2 separate regions of the Homo sapiens genome follow, and region 2 is linked to region 1. Evidence: promoter capture Hi-C in human tissues and cell types (Jung and others, 2019). All regions are on one chromosome and are shown on one strand. Each heading gives the region's core, a stretch centred on a gene start or on the middle of the fragment in contact. The rest is flanking DNA. Distances are from core to core; before and after follow the strand shown. Region 1 holds the start of INPP5K (inositol polyphosphate-5-phosphatase K). Region 2 has its middle 15 kb from the start of ABR-AS1.

Region 1 (7,253 bases), core at 4,283-6,782:
GCCGAGATTGCGCCACTGCAGTCCGCAGTCCGGCCTGGGCGGCAGAGCGAGACTCCGTCTCAAAAAAAAAAAGATGTTTCATAAGTATTTGTTGAATGAATAAATGAATGAAACGGGCCAAGTGTGGTGGCTCACACCTATGCTGTAATCCCAGCACTTTGGGAGGTTGAGGCAGAGGATCGTGTGAGGCCAGGAGCCCAAGACCAGCCTGGTCAACATAGGAAGACCCCCCCACACACACCTCTTTACCAAAAAAAAAAAAAAAAAAAAGGTGCTTCAAACACCGTGACACGAGAGAACTAGAAATCATGGATGGTGAGACCAGTGACACAGATCTGGAAATGTATGGCTTCGAGTCCATATGCAGAATTCTTCCGTCCTTCCAGTGTCTTGCTTTTTACACAAAATATGCCCCACCCCACCTATGGGCAGGACTGAGAAGGCAGGAGTTCCATCAGCAGCAGGAGCCTTCCATTTGTCCTGCTTTTTTTGTTCCAGATGAGACAAAAGGACCCAGTGAAAGGAATGACAGCAGATGACTAAAGCCGCCTTTCCCCTCTGCACTGTACGTACCAAATTTCTCACTGTGCGTGTCACAGACGCTAAAATCAGTTTGGGTTTCAAGGCCTCAGCAGCTCACTATGGAGTCAGAAAACCTATTCCTCCTTCCCTCTAGTAATGATGGTTGCCACGCTCGATAGCTCTCCACTTCCACTAGGAGATTATGGCCCTTGGGACATTTCAGGGACATTTTCCAAAGAACCACCCAGATAGAGACAATGGACAGGGAGGGGGTGGTGGATATAGAAGGGGAGTTCATCTGCTGCGAATCACTCCTCCTGTCTGCCAGCTTGATCCATCTCAAGTTGCAGCTGTCATGTTGGGCACTCCCTGGCCTTCCCACGCCAGCGCCAGCTCCCAAAAGCTGCCATTACCTGCCCTTCCCCCTTGGAAAACTTGCTGGCCAGACAGCTTTTGTTAGCACCCACTGTTGTCTGGTGCTTCATTTCCTTCTTTATACCCCCGATCCCATACTAAGCTGCCCTCATCAGAGGTGGCATCTTTCAGATGCTGGGAGGGTGTTTCTGCCCAGGTCACAGGGCCAGATTGGGGGCCCCTTGTTTCATGTTGTCACTTTTCCCCAAGCCCCCTCCTTCCGTTAACTCTCGGTGCTGGTTTCCCAGTGCCCTGTACACCACCCGAGTCATGGGATTCCAGCAGCTCAAAGCAGTCTTAATCACTGAATGAAAAACCTGGCTCTGCTCCCAATTAGCCTCAGAGAGAAAATTATTTTTACAAATAAAAGCTGGCCTCTAACCCTACGGGCAAGGAGGGCCAGGGTCTCACCAGGAGTGACGGCAGGCCCTGCTTACTCTCCCTGCCCCATGTTCCCAAAGCAGCCTCGGGGAGGCTGGAGGGTGGAATGAGGCGGACTGCTGTGATGCCAGCTTCTCAGTCACTGCTCTGGGCCTCAGTGCTCTCCCCCACTCCCTTCCCCACCCACCCACTGGCTTCCCTCCTCCTCTTGAAATTATCCATTCAGGACGATTTACAGTGTTTCTGTTTTCTCCTCTTGCTTCCTTAATACTTTCATTTTTCTTCTAGTTTTGCAAGACAGTGGTCAACAGGAAGACCCAGCAGCTCCACCCTCCCAAGTGACAGGCCATTTTCGGACGCAGCCGTTCTGTGCCCATTCTTCAGGCAACTTTCGATTCCTTACTGTAGCTAATTCTAGATGCCCTTCAGTATTGTGAACAAATAGACCGTCTGGTGTCACAGAGCCCGCGTGTGCAGGAGCCTGCTCCTCCGAGATACGTGGCGTGTAGGTTGCTGTAGTTACAGCGCCTCCGTCTCTCTCCATTGTGTTCCGATCCATTTCTGTGTGTTCCCCCAACCTTTATTTCCAAGTGACATTTTCAGTCTTTCAAATAGCTGCCTTTTGTGATGTGGTGATTTAAATGATTTAAGTTCATTTGTTCTCAACCTTGGGGTAAACTGAGGTATTTTGCTTCCTGGGAAGATCTTCGCAATTTTGAGTGCTCCTGTGGGGAGCGGGGATGAGCTAAAGATACAATGTTTCCCTGCCCCGCACCGCTTCCACAAAATAGCAATGTGGTTTTGCAGCTCTGACTTCTGCTCCCAGTAACCCATCGTTAGGGCACTCTAGCACTATGGAGGTACCCAAGGCTCAGCCAGTCTCTATTTAAGAAAATTTAACAAATACGAGTAACCCTGTCCCAATCACTGAATCTCTAGTTACTACTCTTAGAAACACCTGTGGCTTCTTGGCCCTCCTGTTGCCCGCTCTGAATCTCTCTGCAGTCTACAAAATCGCCCCAGTCAACTCTCCACTTGGAGGGAATTGTCCAGTGTGGCCCCTAGAATTGAGTCACCCCCTAGATACCAACTGTCTGACCCCGAGGAGCTCTGTAAGTCCCTGCTCCTCCTCTTCCCTTTGGGGCTGGTGCTGCCACTCAGCAATAATCCTCTTTTCTCTGTGCTTTCTTAGGTCCCTGTCCTCTGTCTTTGAGGCTGGTTAGGAAGCAAGAGTCCTGATCTTTCATGCTGCACAATATGAGCATGCAAAAAGCTTTTTCCAGCAGAACATGTTCCCTCGTCTCCAGTTGCCGGAAAGGAATTTGGGGATCAAGAACTTAGCTCGTCCTACCCCCATGTTGAGTTCTGCCCTGGAAAACCCAAAGCAAGTAGTGATCATAGTACAGAACCCGACCAAAGTAGGCTGGTGAGGAAGTCCAGGCTCCAGGGGAACAGACGCTGCCCAGTGTTCATAGCTTCCTGCAACTTGACAGAGCCTGAGTTTGCCTCTTAGTGGGAGAATGAGAGAGAGCTGTAGTGTCACCTGACATTCCCCAAACCTTGTGAAGCACGTTGGCCTAAGTGTGCCGTGATCCCAGCCCACACTAGCCTGGGTGCATCTGCTAATGGGAGACCAAATCTTTGTCCGGGAAGCAAGAAGTGGGTGGGAGAATGTATCCTGTTTTTGTCAGTTTGTTTGCCTTACTCATTTCTAAGTGCAATAAGGGAGTGTCTCACAGGATTGCACCTGTGACATCCTGATGGATGCTTCCCTGTGGCCCTCCTGGGGCAAGGGTGGACAGACTCAGACCCCCAGCATGGTTAGCGCTGACCTTCATTGAGGTCCCTTTGGAACCAGATGTCTTGTTACAGACACCTTCCTCTGTGTAAGTCTCCTCACCTTGAGGGGTCTTTAGTAATGCATCTGGGTAGCATCTCAACTGCTGGTAGCATTTATCTGACTTGGAAAGTTGGAGAAGAGGCATTCCTACTGGAGAAAAATGTCAGTGTTTTCCTATAAGCTCTGTGTTAGCTATTCATTATATTTGTGCTTAAAGATGTTCCTTCATTCATCAACTAGGGGAAGTCCAGATGCGGGTTATCTTGAAAGAAACAAACTGACATTCTAGGCAGACAGTTGTCTATGTGGTCTGAGGGTCAGCAGCTGTTAGTCTCCTTCCTTTGGCTCTTGAGACCCACACATATCACTTTAGCCCTAACAAGGGCTCCTCCCACCTCCACCTGTTGCCCCAGTTGAAAAGCATCCATTATGAGCTGAGGTCAGCCTGGATCTGGAATTGCAGCCCACATAAACATAAAGGAGGATGTCCCTGGTCTGTTCCATCCCCACGGATGGTGTTGCTGCTGGGCAACAGTGTTGGCTTCTTTTAAGTACCCCCTTTCCTCCTCACCCACCTCCAAACTGACTAGCACTCAGAGGGACTTATGATAAAGGTTCAGCTCCAGGGGTAGTACCTGAGTGTGTGCCATGCCCCTTCAGACCAGCTGCTTCCATCAGAATTCCAGGGTCACAGCCCCAACAGAAGCAGCAGTGCCTCTGTAGGAGGGGTGCTGGGCTCTGGCCTTCTCATGCAGAGAGGTCCGGGACAGGGTCAGTATCGTGGGCATGTGTATAGCTTCCCAAGTTCTTTTACAGTCCCTGCTGGGACTCCCTGACTTACTTTGGTTGGTTCCTAGTGCTACTTGTTTTACAAACTACACTTTGTAGAATTGATTAGATTACCTTGTTTATTTAATGTGAGTTTGTGCCTTTTTGTCTCAATCTTCCAATACAGGTATATTGAGAAAAAAAGCAGTCTAATAAAATCCTAGACAGAACTTTCTGGAGTCCAGTTTGGTGATGTCCATTTTCCAGCTGTATGTATCCTCAAACTTGCACTGATAACCGCCATTTTACCAGGGCAGGATTAGGAAGAGGTACAAAGGTGTGTCTGAAAATTTTTGCACGTGGATTTCTGCATATAATAGTCCCGTGTCAGTTTACTTATGCAAACATTGCACATCTGAATTGTAATTCGGCCGTTTCCTACTGACAGGATGTCCTTTTGCTTTTGTCTGCCTCCTCTTCACATCTTCCTCTTTATCCACCCTACCAAACAAGCAAAACATTTATTTAAAGTAGTTTTAGGCCGGGCGCGGTGGCTCACACCTGAAATCGCAGCACTCTGGGAGGCCGAGGCGGGTGGATCAGCTGAGGTCAGGAGTTCGAGACCAGCCTGACCAACATGGCGAAACCCCATCTCGGCTAATTATTATTATTATTTTTTTTTTTTGAAACGAAGTCTCGCTCTGTCGCGCAGGCTGGGGTGCAGTGGCGCAATCTCGGCTCACTGCAACCTCCACCTCCCGGGTTCAGGCGATTCTCCTGCCTCAGCCTCCCGAGTAGCTGGGATTAACAGGCGCGCGCTATCAAGCCCAGCTAGCTTTTGTGTTTTTAGCAGAGACGGGGTTTCACCATGTTAAGGCCAGGCTGGTCTTAAACTCCTGACCTCAAGTGAGCCGCCCGCCTCGGCCTCCCAAAGTGCTGGGATTACAGGCATTGAGCCACCGCGCCCCGGCCTACGTTTCATTTATTGACGGCTAATTCTGTAGGAGTCCAGGAATCCCCAAACGTCCCATATGCAATAGGTAATCCAATAAGTTTGGAGTAGAAGCCTGAAAGTGGGCGTGGAGAACGGAGGCGCTCCCGCAGTAGCAGGAATGGGGAGATTACCTGCAGCCGGGGGGCGGGGGAGACCGGATCCCAGGCAGGACAGTGGCTAGGCTGCGTGTCCCCACCCCCGACCCTCGTTTGACCCCTGGGAGCCGGGGCGAAGACAGCACAAGGACGGAGCCCTCGGATCCCTCACGAGTGGGGCAGAGGCTGCGGCGGCGGCGAAGAGACAACTTCCGCCGGAAGACGGCCCCTGGCGCGGGGCACGCTGGGAGCTGCGGACGGCGGGCGCGGGCTGGGCCGGGTCTAGTGGCGGCCGCACACCTCGCGTCGTCTGGGGCAGTGTTGCGCGTGCGCTGATGACAGGCCCGACACGCCCCTCTTACGTCCGCGAACCCGTCTTCGCTCAGCCTCTCGCAGCTTTGCGCTCGTGGGAGAGTCCCGCCTCCTTCTGCGAACCGCACCACCCAGATCCCGGGGTGCGCGGAGGGCGCGTCTCTGACGGAAGCCGGGGCGGACGGTCGGAGTCCGGAAGAAAAACAGTCCGCGACAGCTAGGCGCGTGAGACCGGCCGCCCGCAGGGCTGCTCTGGCCGGGACCCGCTGGCCGGGAGACGCGAACCTGCCGGACCACCGCGCGGGGACGACGGCGGCCATGAGCTCGCGGAAGCTGAGCGGGCCGAAAGGCAGGAGGCTCAGGTGAGGGCACCCTGGCGGCAGAGGCAGGCCTGCTCGGGGGGATCGGCGCCCCTTGGGCTGCGGGCTGGGGGTGGACAAGGCACCAGACCTCCATGACTGCCTTTGGTTCAGAGGCGCTCTCGCCTTCTCCCACGCCTGTGTCAGGTGGGCTGTGTTGGGCCCGAGCCTCGCGCCCCCTCTAAGCCGAGGCCGCCAAGCTCGTTCCCACTGGGGCGCAGCAGGTGTCCCGGTTGCTTTCTGGAGAGGACAGCCGTGTGGGGTTGTTTGAGGTTAAAGACATAACGAGGCCGTCACCCTTCGGCTCTCGGTTAGAAATCTTTTTCCTACTTTTCATCAGCACATACATCAGGAGGTCTGCCTGATCCCATGGTGAACCCCGGGAATCCGAAATCAGATTGAGATAAGATCCTTTAGGGAAGTGACTTAGCCTGGTCTCTTGCCTGCTCTTTCACGGGGAACAACGCTAATCGCCCACTTAGTCTAAGTCACGATGCTTGGATTTGCTGCTAATCGTCGGATTTGAGAGTGGGAACAAGAAATCCGGACTTTTGCTCTCCATCCTCTTAGAGTGAGTCTGGGAAAAGAAGTCTCTGAGTAAAAGGTCTTTGTTCCTTAAGCCTCTGTCGGACAGCAGGGGGAGATCGTAAACAAATGAAGCTCAAAATCTCAGGCCGAGTGCCTGGGAAGGTGGTTTCTGTATAGTGTTGTTTATGCTAACAGGGAGGGACAGGAAGTTGCTTTAAACTGGCCAAGAATTTCTTGAAGTGCTTTTGAGAACGTCGACCTCTAAGGACGGGGTCTGTTGGAGGAGAGATGTTTTGGCATTAACTGCCCTTTTCTCCCATCCCCCTGTACCCTCTGCCATTCCAGATCTCCAGCTGCTGCAGGTACTCCTCATCGTGTGCCTAGGACTCATGCTAGGCTGTTCCTGGTCTCTGCAGGGTCTGTAGCTCCTGCCCGCTCTGTGCTCCGCACAGTCTGAGGCTTCTTGAAGAGCTGCTGTGACTGACTGTTCCACTAAAGACATCTGTAGGTCTCTCTTTCCTGAGCCTCTGACTGGATCCAGTGTCATTGAGGCCCCTTATCTAGTTTTCTTGCTTCCCTAAGACTTGTAAGCTGAGGTGGAAAATATCCAACTGATGACTTTTCCCCAGAGAGTACTCTTTATTTTTCACGGAATACTACGCAGACATAGAGCATAGACTCTTAAGAGAGATGTCGAGAAACCTGTTACTTAAAAACTCCTTGGCCGGGCGCGGTGGCTCAGGCCTGTAATCCCAGCACTTTGGGAGGCTGAGGCGGGCGGATCACCTGAGAGATCAGGAGTTCAGGACCAGCCTGGCCAACATGGTGAAACCCCGTCTCTACTAAAAATACAAAAGTTAGCCAGATGTGGTGGCACACACCTGTAATCCCAGCTACTTGGGAGGTTGAGGCAGGAGAACTGCTGGAACCTGGGAGGCGGAGGCTGCGATGAGCCGAGATCATCCCAGTCCACTCCAGCCTGGGCAACAGAGTGAGACTCAGTCTCAAAAAAAAAAAAAAAAAAAGTCTCGCTGAAGTGC
Region 2 (7,453 bases), core at 3,707-6,206, 320 kb after region 1:
CCCTTGGATAGGGATAGTGTGGCTTCCAGCCAGGTAGAGAAGGCCAACTATAAAACTTTGTAAAGAGCTCTATGGTTGCAGCACACCAACATGGCACATGTATACATATGTAACAGACCTGCACGTTGTGCACATGTACCCTAAAATTTAAAGTATAATAAAAAAAAAAAGAAAAAAGAGCTCTATTATATGCATACAAAAAAAGCTGGAAAATGCTAATTGGGGTGGTGTATTTTATGGGTCACATTTTACTCTTTTATTGTCTAAAAGTTTTTAAAATTCTGGCTTTATGACTTATATGACAGAAAAAAAAAACTGAATAAACTTATAGTTTTAAAAAATTGGCCAGGTGCTGTGGCTCACACCTGTAATCCCACCACTTTGGGCAGCTGAGGTGGGTGGATCACCTGAGGTCAGGAGTTCAACTGAGGTCAGCCTGGCCAACATGGTGAAACCCTGTCTCTACTGAAAATGCAAAAATTAGCCGGGCGTGGTGGCGGGCGTCTGTAATCCTAGCTACTTGGGAGGCTGAGGCAGGAGAATTGCTTGAACCCGGGAGGGGGAGGCTGCGGTGAGAGTCCGTCTCTCCCTTCCACCCCCAAAAATATCCCACCAGCTACAGTGAGCTGTGATTGCACCACTGCACTCCAGCTGGGGAACAGAGCAAGATCCTGTTTCAAAAAAACCAGAAAACAAAAACCCCAACAGCCTGTATGTTTTGTACCTTCCGTGTGGCCTCTTGGTGGTCTATGACATGGGTACAGATGAGCCCCTGCCAGTGTGTTAATTGCAGCGTGGCTTCTGAGCCAGCAGCCCGGGTGATCTTCCTAGCCGGGCCCTGGCTCACTGCCTCTGTTTCCCCCAGTCTTCCCTGGCACCTGCAGAGCCAGAGAGAGGTTTTGTTTTCCAGAACCAGGCATTCGTGACCCTGACCACTCCCGAGCAAAGTTTTCACACCTTCCCCGGCCCCCTCAGAGGAATGAAGGTCTGGGAGGAGATAGGGCCTCGTCCTTGGAACCAGGCACCTCTTTTTTTTTTTTTCGAGTCAGAGTCCCGCTCTGTTGCCCAGGCTGGAGTGCAATGGCACCGTCTCGGCTCACTGCAACCTCTGCCTCCCAGGTTCAAACGATTCTTCTACCTCAGCCTCCCAAGTAGCTGGGATTGGCCAGGCGCGGTAGCTCACGCCTGTAATCCCAGCACTTTGGGAGGCTGAGGCGGGCGGATCCCAAGTTCAGGAGATCATAACCATCCTGGCTAACACGGTGAAACCCACCTCTATTAAAAAAAAAAAAATTTGCCAGGTGTGGTGGTGGGCAACTGTAGTCCCAGGTACTGGAGAGGCTGAGGCAGGAGAATGGCGTGAACCCGGGAGGCGGAGCTTGCAGTGAGCCGAGATGGCATCACTACACTCCAGCCTGGGCAACAGAGCGAGACTCCATCTCAAAAACAAAAACAAAAAACCAAGTAGCTGGGATCACAGGTGTACACCGCCACGCCTGGTTAATATTGTATTTTTAGTAGAGATGGGGTTTCACCATGAGGCCAGGCTGGTCTCGAACTCCTGATCTCAGGTGATCCACCCGCCTCAGCCTCCCAAAGTGCTGGGATTATAGGTTTGAGCCACTGTGCCTGGCCGGAACCAGGCAGCTTTGATTGCAGAATCAGGCAGAGGCCAGGTGGGAAGTTGCCGTCTGTTGGTGTCTCAGGCCAAGCTCTCCTTGTCCAGACAGAACCTCTTCCTTTTTGGTCCTGAAAGTCACACTAAAAATCAGCAGCAGCTCGGCCTTGGGCAACGTGCCACGTGTACCGACGTTGGGGTTAGTGGTCTTTGCAGGAAGTCGAGGTTGTTTGTGGGCCTGGAAGGAAATGTGGCCTGCCTGCATGTACAGCCTCATGTGTGGCCTCTGGGAGGGGGAGCAGACAGAACCCGCAGCCCCAGAGACTGGGAGGCTTCTCTGTGGCAGCTTCCTCATTTCTGGTTAGTTGTGGCAGGGGGCAGATACAGTCTCTTTTGCAAAAGCAGCTCCTTTATGTCCAGAAGGCGACAGCTCAGCTCTCCTTTAGGGCCCCCAAAGAACTAACCCACAGCGTGGGGCTGCGGCCAGCCGGGCGCAGCAGCAGCGGCAGTGTTCCTGTCTCAGCTGCCTGCAGCATGGCTTTGATCTGACAGTCAGCAGGGTGTATTTGCCCCCAAAGCCAGTGGTCTGAGGAGCCCAGCTCCAGTTAGGTCTTAGGTGGGGACACCATAGATACTGCTCTCTGGGGAAAACCAAGTCACGGTCTGGTTTGGGTGAGCGCTGATCTTCCCTCCAGTGTGATCCCAAGCTCCCTGGGATGTTGGCTATAGGGAGCAATCAGGAGCCACTCCCCAAGACTCAGGGGACCAGCCTGGGGTCCAGGAAAGAAGACTTCCCAGCACCCTCCCCCTCTCTGCTGGTGGTCTGGCACTCCCCTCATGTGACAGGCATGTGGCTTTTGGGAGGAAAGAATCTTTCACAATCAGACAGAAACAGCAACTGGGAAAATAACTCATGCAGGGGTTTGGGCAATGAGTGTCTAGAAGGCTGTGGGCCACGAGAAGGGGATTAGGGTGAGGTTTCATCAGAGCTGTGGCTAAGATCCGAGGAGGCTCCTAGAGCTCAAGGCTTCAGAATGACCGGTCAGGAGCCAGAGGGATGGTGTCTTTCTCTCTCCAACCTCTCAGACCAAAAATGGGGCATGGGGCTGACCCTGCCCAATTTTTTTCAAACCCGCAGAGACAGAGGTTTGAAATCATTCACTCCAGCATTAAGTGGAGGTGGCTCCAGCTCAGAGCCTCCAGCCAAACCCTCCCTGCGCCACAGCAGGAGATCACGGCCTGTTTCCCAGAGGCTCTGAAATAGGAGTGACTCTCCTTAAAGTGCTCCTTGCAATGCTCATCCGAGCCTGGGCCAGGCAGGGCTGGGGGCTGCCTTGAAGAAAGAGATGCCCCCGAGATCCGATACCCTCTGGAGCGTTGCAGGATGCGTCTGTCCAGGAGGCACTGCAGGGGAGCCGGGGTTCCCGGAGCATTTGGGAAGGTTTCTGAGCAGCACAGGGTCCTTCCTTAGGAAGGCGGATCTTGGCCGGGTGCGGTGGCTCACGCCTGTCATCCCAGCACTTTGGGAGGCCGAGGCGGATGGATCACGAGGTCAGGAGATTGAGACCATCCTGGCTAACACGGTGAAACCCCATCTCTACTAAAAATACAAAAAATTAGCCGGGCACGGTGGTGGGCGCCTGTAGTCCCAGCTACTCGGGAGGCTGAGGCAGGAGAATGGCATGAACCCGGGAGGCGGAGCTTGCGGTGAGCCAGGATCGCGCCACTGCACTCCAGCCTGGGCGACAGAGCAAGACTCCGTCTCAAAAAAAAAAAAAAAAGGAAGGTTGGATCTCCTGTAGCTTCCTGTGGTGCCGTCTTCTCCCAGGGACTCGAGCCTTGTTCAGAGCACTGACAGGATTTTTCAGAAAGTTCTGTGTGTGTGGCTGCTCTTTGGTAAGCCCAGGGCAACAGAGTCATCAACATTTAGGGAGGGGGTGGGTGAGGCAGGATGTAGAGTTAATACCCAGTTTTGTCCTATGTTCCTCTGAGAAGTTAGCTAAGAAATCTTTTCTAAATTAAATTTAATTAATTAATTTGTTTTTTGGGCCAGAGTTTTCACTCTTGTCACCCAGGCTGGAGTGCAGTGGTGTGATGTCAGCTCACTGTGACCTCCACCTCCTGGGTTCAAGTGATTCTCCTGCCTCAGCCTCCCGAGTAGCTGGGATTACAGGCACGTGCCACCATGCCCAGCTAATTTTTGTATTTGTAGTAGAAAGAGGGTTTCGCCATGTTGGCCAGGCTGGTCTTGAACTCCTGACCTCAGGTGATCCGCCTGCCTCGGCCTCCCAAAGTGCCGGGATTATAGGCGTGAGCCACCGCACCTTGCCTATTTTTTTTTTTTTTTTTGAGACAGAATCTCGCTCTGTTGCTCAGGCTGGAGTGCAGTGTCGTGATCTCGGCTCACTGCAACCTTCTCCTTCTTGGTTCAAGCGATCCTCGTGCCTCAGCCACCTGAGTACCTGGGATTACAGGCACCTGCTACCATGCCTGGCTAATTTTTGTATTTTTAGTAGAGATGGGGTTTTGCCATGTTGCCCAGGCTCGTCTCGCACTCCTGACCTCAAGTGATCCCTGACCTCAAGTGATCTCTCCCCACAATCCCAACTTGCCTTCCCAAAGTTCTGGGATTACAGGCGTGAGCCACCGCGCCGGCCAATAATTTTTTTTTTTTGAGACAGAGTCTCGCTCTGTTGCGCAGGCTGGAGTGCAGTGACACGATCTCGGCTCACTGCAACCTTTGCCTCCCGGGTTCACACCATTCTCCTGCCTCAGCCTCCTGTGTAGCTGGGACTACAGGCGCCCACCACCACGCCCGGCTAATTTGTTGTATTTTTAGTAGAGACGGGGTTTCACCGTGTTAGCCAGGATGGTCTCGATCTCCTGACCTCGTGATCCACCCGCCTCGGCCTCCCACAGTGCTGGGATGACAGGCGTGAGCCACTGCCCAGCCAATAATTTTCTTTAAAATGCTCCTTACGCTACTTGCTGAGCCTGGGTCAGGCAGGGCTGGGGGCTGCCTTTGGGAGAGAGATACACCAGAGACTAGTTAATCACTGTAGCAGTAGAAAACACCCTTAAGGGCCGGGCCTGATGGCTCACGCCTGTAATCCCAGCACTTGGAGAGGCCAAGGTGGGAGGATCCTTTGAGGCCAGGACTTTTTTTTTTTTTTGAGACAGTCTCATTCTGTCGCCCAGGCTGGAGTGCTGTGGCGCGATCTCCGCTCACTGCAAGCTCCGCCTTCCGGGTTCACGCCATTCTCCTGCCTCAGCCTCCCGAGTAGCTGGGACTACAGGCGCCCGCCACTGCGCCCGGCTAATTTTTTGTATTTTTAGTAGAGACGGGGTTTCACCGTGTTAGCCAGGATGGTCTCGATCTCCTGACCTCGTGATCCGCCCGCCTCGGCCTCCCAAAGTGCTGGGATTACAGGCGTGAGCCACCGCGCCTGGCCTGAGGCCAGGACTTCAAGAGCAGCCTGGGCAACATAGTGAGGTTCTGTCTGTACAAAATTAAAAAAAAAATTAGGGTCGGGCGCGGTGGCTCACACCTGTAATTCCAGCACTTTAGGAGGCCGAGGTGGGTGAATCACCTGAGTCAGGAGTTCGAGACCAGTCTGGCCAACATGGCGAAACCCTGTCTCTACTAAAAATACAAAATTTTTAGGGCATGGTGGCACATGCCTGTAATCCCAGCTACTAGGGGGGCTGAGGCAGGAGGATTGCTTGAACCCGGGAGGTGGAGGTTGCAGTGAGCTGAGACCGCACCACTGCACTCCAGCCTGGGCAACAGAGCGAGACTCCATCTTAAAAAAAAAAAAATTAGCTGGGTGTGGTGGTGCATGCCTGTAGTCCTAGCTATGCAAGAAGTTGAGGCAGGGGGATGGCTTGAGCCTGGGAGGTCGAGACTGTAGTGAGCTATGATTGCACCACTACACTCCAGTCTGGGCGATAGAGTGAGACTTGTCTCTAAAAAATAAAGAAGGCTGGGCGAAGTGTCTCACACCTGTAATCCCAGCACTTTGGGAAGACGAGGCAGGCAGATCACCTGAGGTCAGGAGTTGAGACCAGCATGGCCAACATGGTGAAACCCCTCTCTACTAAAAATACAAAACAAAACAAAAAAATAGCTGGGCGTGGTGGCGTGTACCTGTAATCTTAGCTACTTGGGAGGCTGAGGCAAGAGAATTACTTGAACCCGGGAGGCGGAGGTTGCAGTGAGCCAAGATCGTGCCATTGCACTCCAGCCTGGGCGACAGAGAGAGACTCTGTCTCAATCAATCAATCAAAATATAAATAAATAAAAAAAAACAAAGGAAACACCCTTGCCACCAGAGATCCTCCAGGTACAAACCTCATGTTCAAGGAGAAATCAAAAGACCCAGGAGCTTGTCAGATTTCAGTAGAGGAGAAAGAGGATGGAAATTCATCTTTGTGTCTTCCTTCCTCTGCCACTTCCCCTGGAGAGTAAGCTTTAAGAGCTGCAGTGGCCAGGCGCGGGGCTCACGCCTGTTATCCCAGCACTTTGAGAGGCCAAGGTGGGCAGATCACGAGGTCAGGAGATCAAAACCATCCTGGCTAACACGGTGAAACCCCGTCTCTATTAAAAATACAAAAAAAAAATTAGCTGGGCGTGGTGGCGGGTGCCTGTAGTCCCAGTTATTCAGGAGGCTGAGGCAGGTGAATCGCTTCAACCTGGGAGGCGGAGGATGCAGTGAGCCGAGATTGTGCCACTGCACTCCACACTCCAGCCTGGGGGACAGAGGGAGACTCTATCTCAAACATAAAAACACACAAACAAAAAGGGCTGCACTGATGTGCTTGAATTAGCGTCAGTTGCCAGTACTCCCTGGCGTGCTGGAAACCGAGCTCTTCCTGAGTGAATGTCGGGCGGCATCTGGTCAGGATGCTTTCCTGAAGCTTCAGGACTGGTGGCCAGGTACAATTGCTCTGGACCGAGCCAGACCCGAGTGAGAACTTGGCTCTGTCACTCACTAGCAGTGTGAACTTGAGCCTCTTCTGTAAAGCGGGCGTGGTGACTGTGGCTTCCACATAGAGAGGCTGCTTGCGAAGAGTGAAGGTTACGTGCTTAACAGGGTGCCTAGAACGTAAATACTGGCGATGCTCGGGACACGTCGGCCGAAGGGCGTTCAGCAAACTCGCCGGGAGAGCGGGGGAGTCCTGAATCCTTGTGGGTATTGAGGGGGAGGGGGTGTCCCAGAAAGGCTTCTCTATAAGGTGGATCTAAGAAAAGCTGCTAATTCTGTTGTTTTCCTGAATTCATGCTGAGGCCACACGTTAGATTAGTAGCAGTTTCTATATTCGCCCCCAGTTCCCAAAAGAACCTTCTCCACAGTCATCCATTCTAGCTCTTCGCTCCATTTCCACGTCTGCCTCTGTGCAAGTTTTTGTTTTGTTTTGTTTTTTGTTTTGAGATAGAGTTTCGCTCTTTTTGCTCAGGCTGGAGTGCAATGGCGCAATCTCGGCTCACTACAGCCTCCGCCTCCTGGGTTCAAGGGATTCTCCTGCCTCAGCCTCCCCAGTAGCTGGGATTACAGGCGCCCGCCACCACACCCCACTAATTTTCTATTTTTAGTAGAGAGGGGGTTTCACCATATTGGTCAGGCTGCTCTCAAACTCCCAACCTCAGGTGATCCACCTGCCTCAGCCTCCCAAAGTGCTGGGATTATAGGTGCCTTCCACCACGCCCAGCTATTTTTTTGTATTTTTAGTAGAGACGGGGTTTCACCATGTTGGCCAGGCTGGTCTTGAACTCGTGGCCTCGGGTGATCCTCCTGCCTCGGCCTCCCAAAGTGCTGGAATTACAGGTGCCTTCCA

What was found. The method cuts DNA at HindIII sites, captures the fragments that hold promoters and counts their contacts. A contact is called where the count stands out against the background at its distance.
Region 2: a fragment that was not itself captured here is called in contact with the fragment with the promoter of INPP5K in region 1 in 3 of the 25 tissues and cell types used here (dorsolateral prefrontal cortex, spleen and thymus).

What each region holds. Positions count from the first base shown.
Region 1 is chr17:1,514,891-1,522,143 of GRCh38, reverse strand. It overlaps INPP5K (inositol polyphosphate-5-phosphatase K), which reads left to right and starts at 5,532. Exons shown (of 12, transcript NM_016532.4): 1 at 5,532-5,688. The coding sequence starts at 5,645. PITPNA (phosphatidylinositol transfer protein alpha) reads left to right here. Exons shown (of 12, transcript NM_006224.4): 11 at 499-565; 12 at 1,606-4,426. The coding sequence ends at 543. PITPNA-AS1 (PITPNA antisense RNA 1) reads right to left here and starts at 5,225. Exons shown (of 2, transcript NR_028514.1): 1 at 5,051-5,225; 2 at 4,048-4,426. RefSeq lists a silencer at 5,147-5,446. The HindIII fragment of the contact is 13,245 bases long and covers 928-7,253 here.
Region 2 is chr17:1,192,643-1,200,095 of GRCh38, reverse strand. It overlaps a transcript of ABR not described here. Among named protein-coding and RNA genes, the nearest start is that of ABR-AS1, 15 kb to the right of the region's middle. RefSeq lists enhancers at 440-489, 1,606-1,745, 1,856-2,035, 2,066-2,115 and a silencer at 1,610-1,810. The HindIII fragment of the contact is 6,525 bases long and covers 1,694-7,453 here.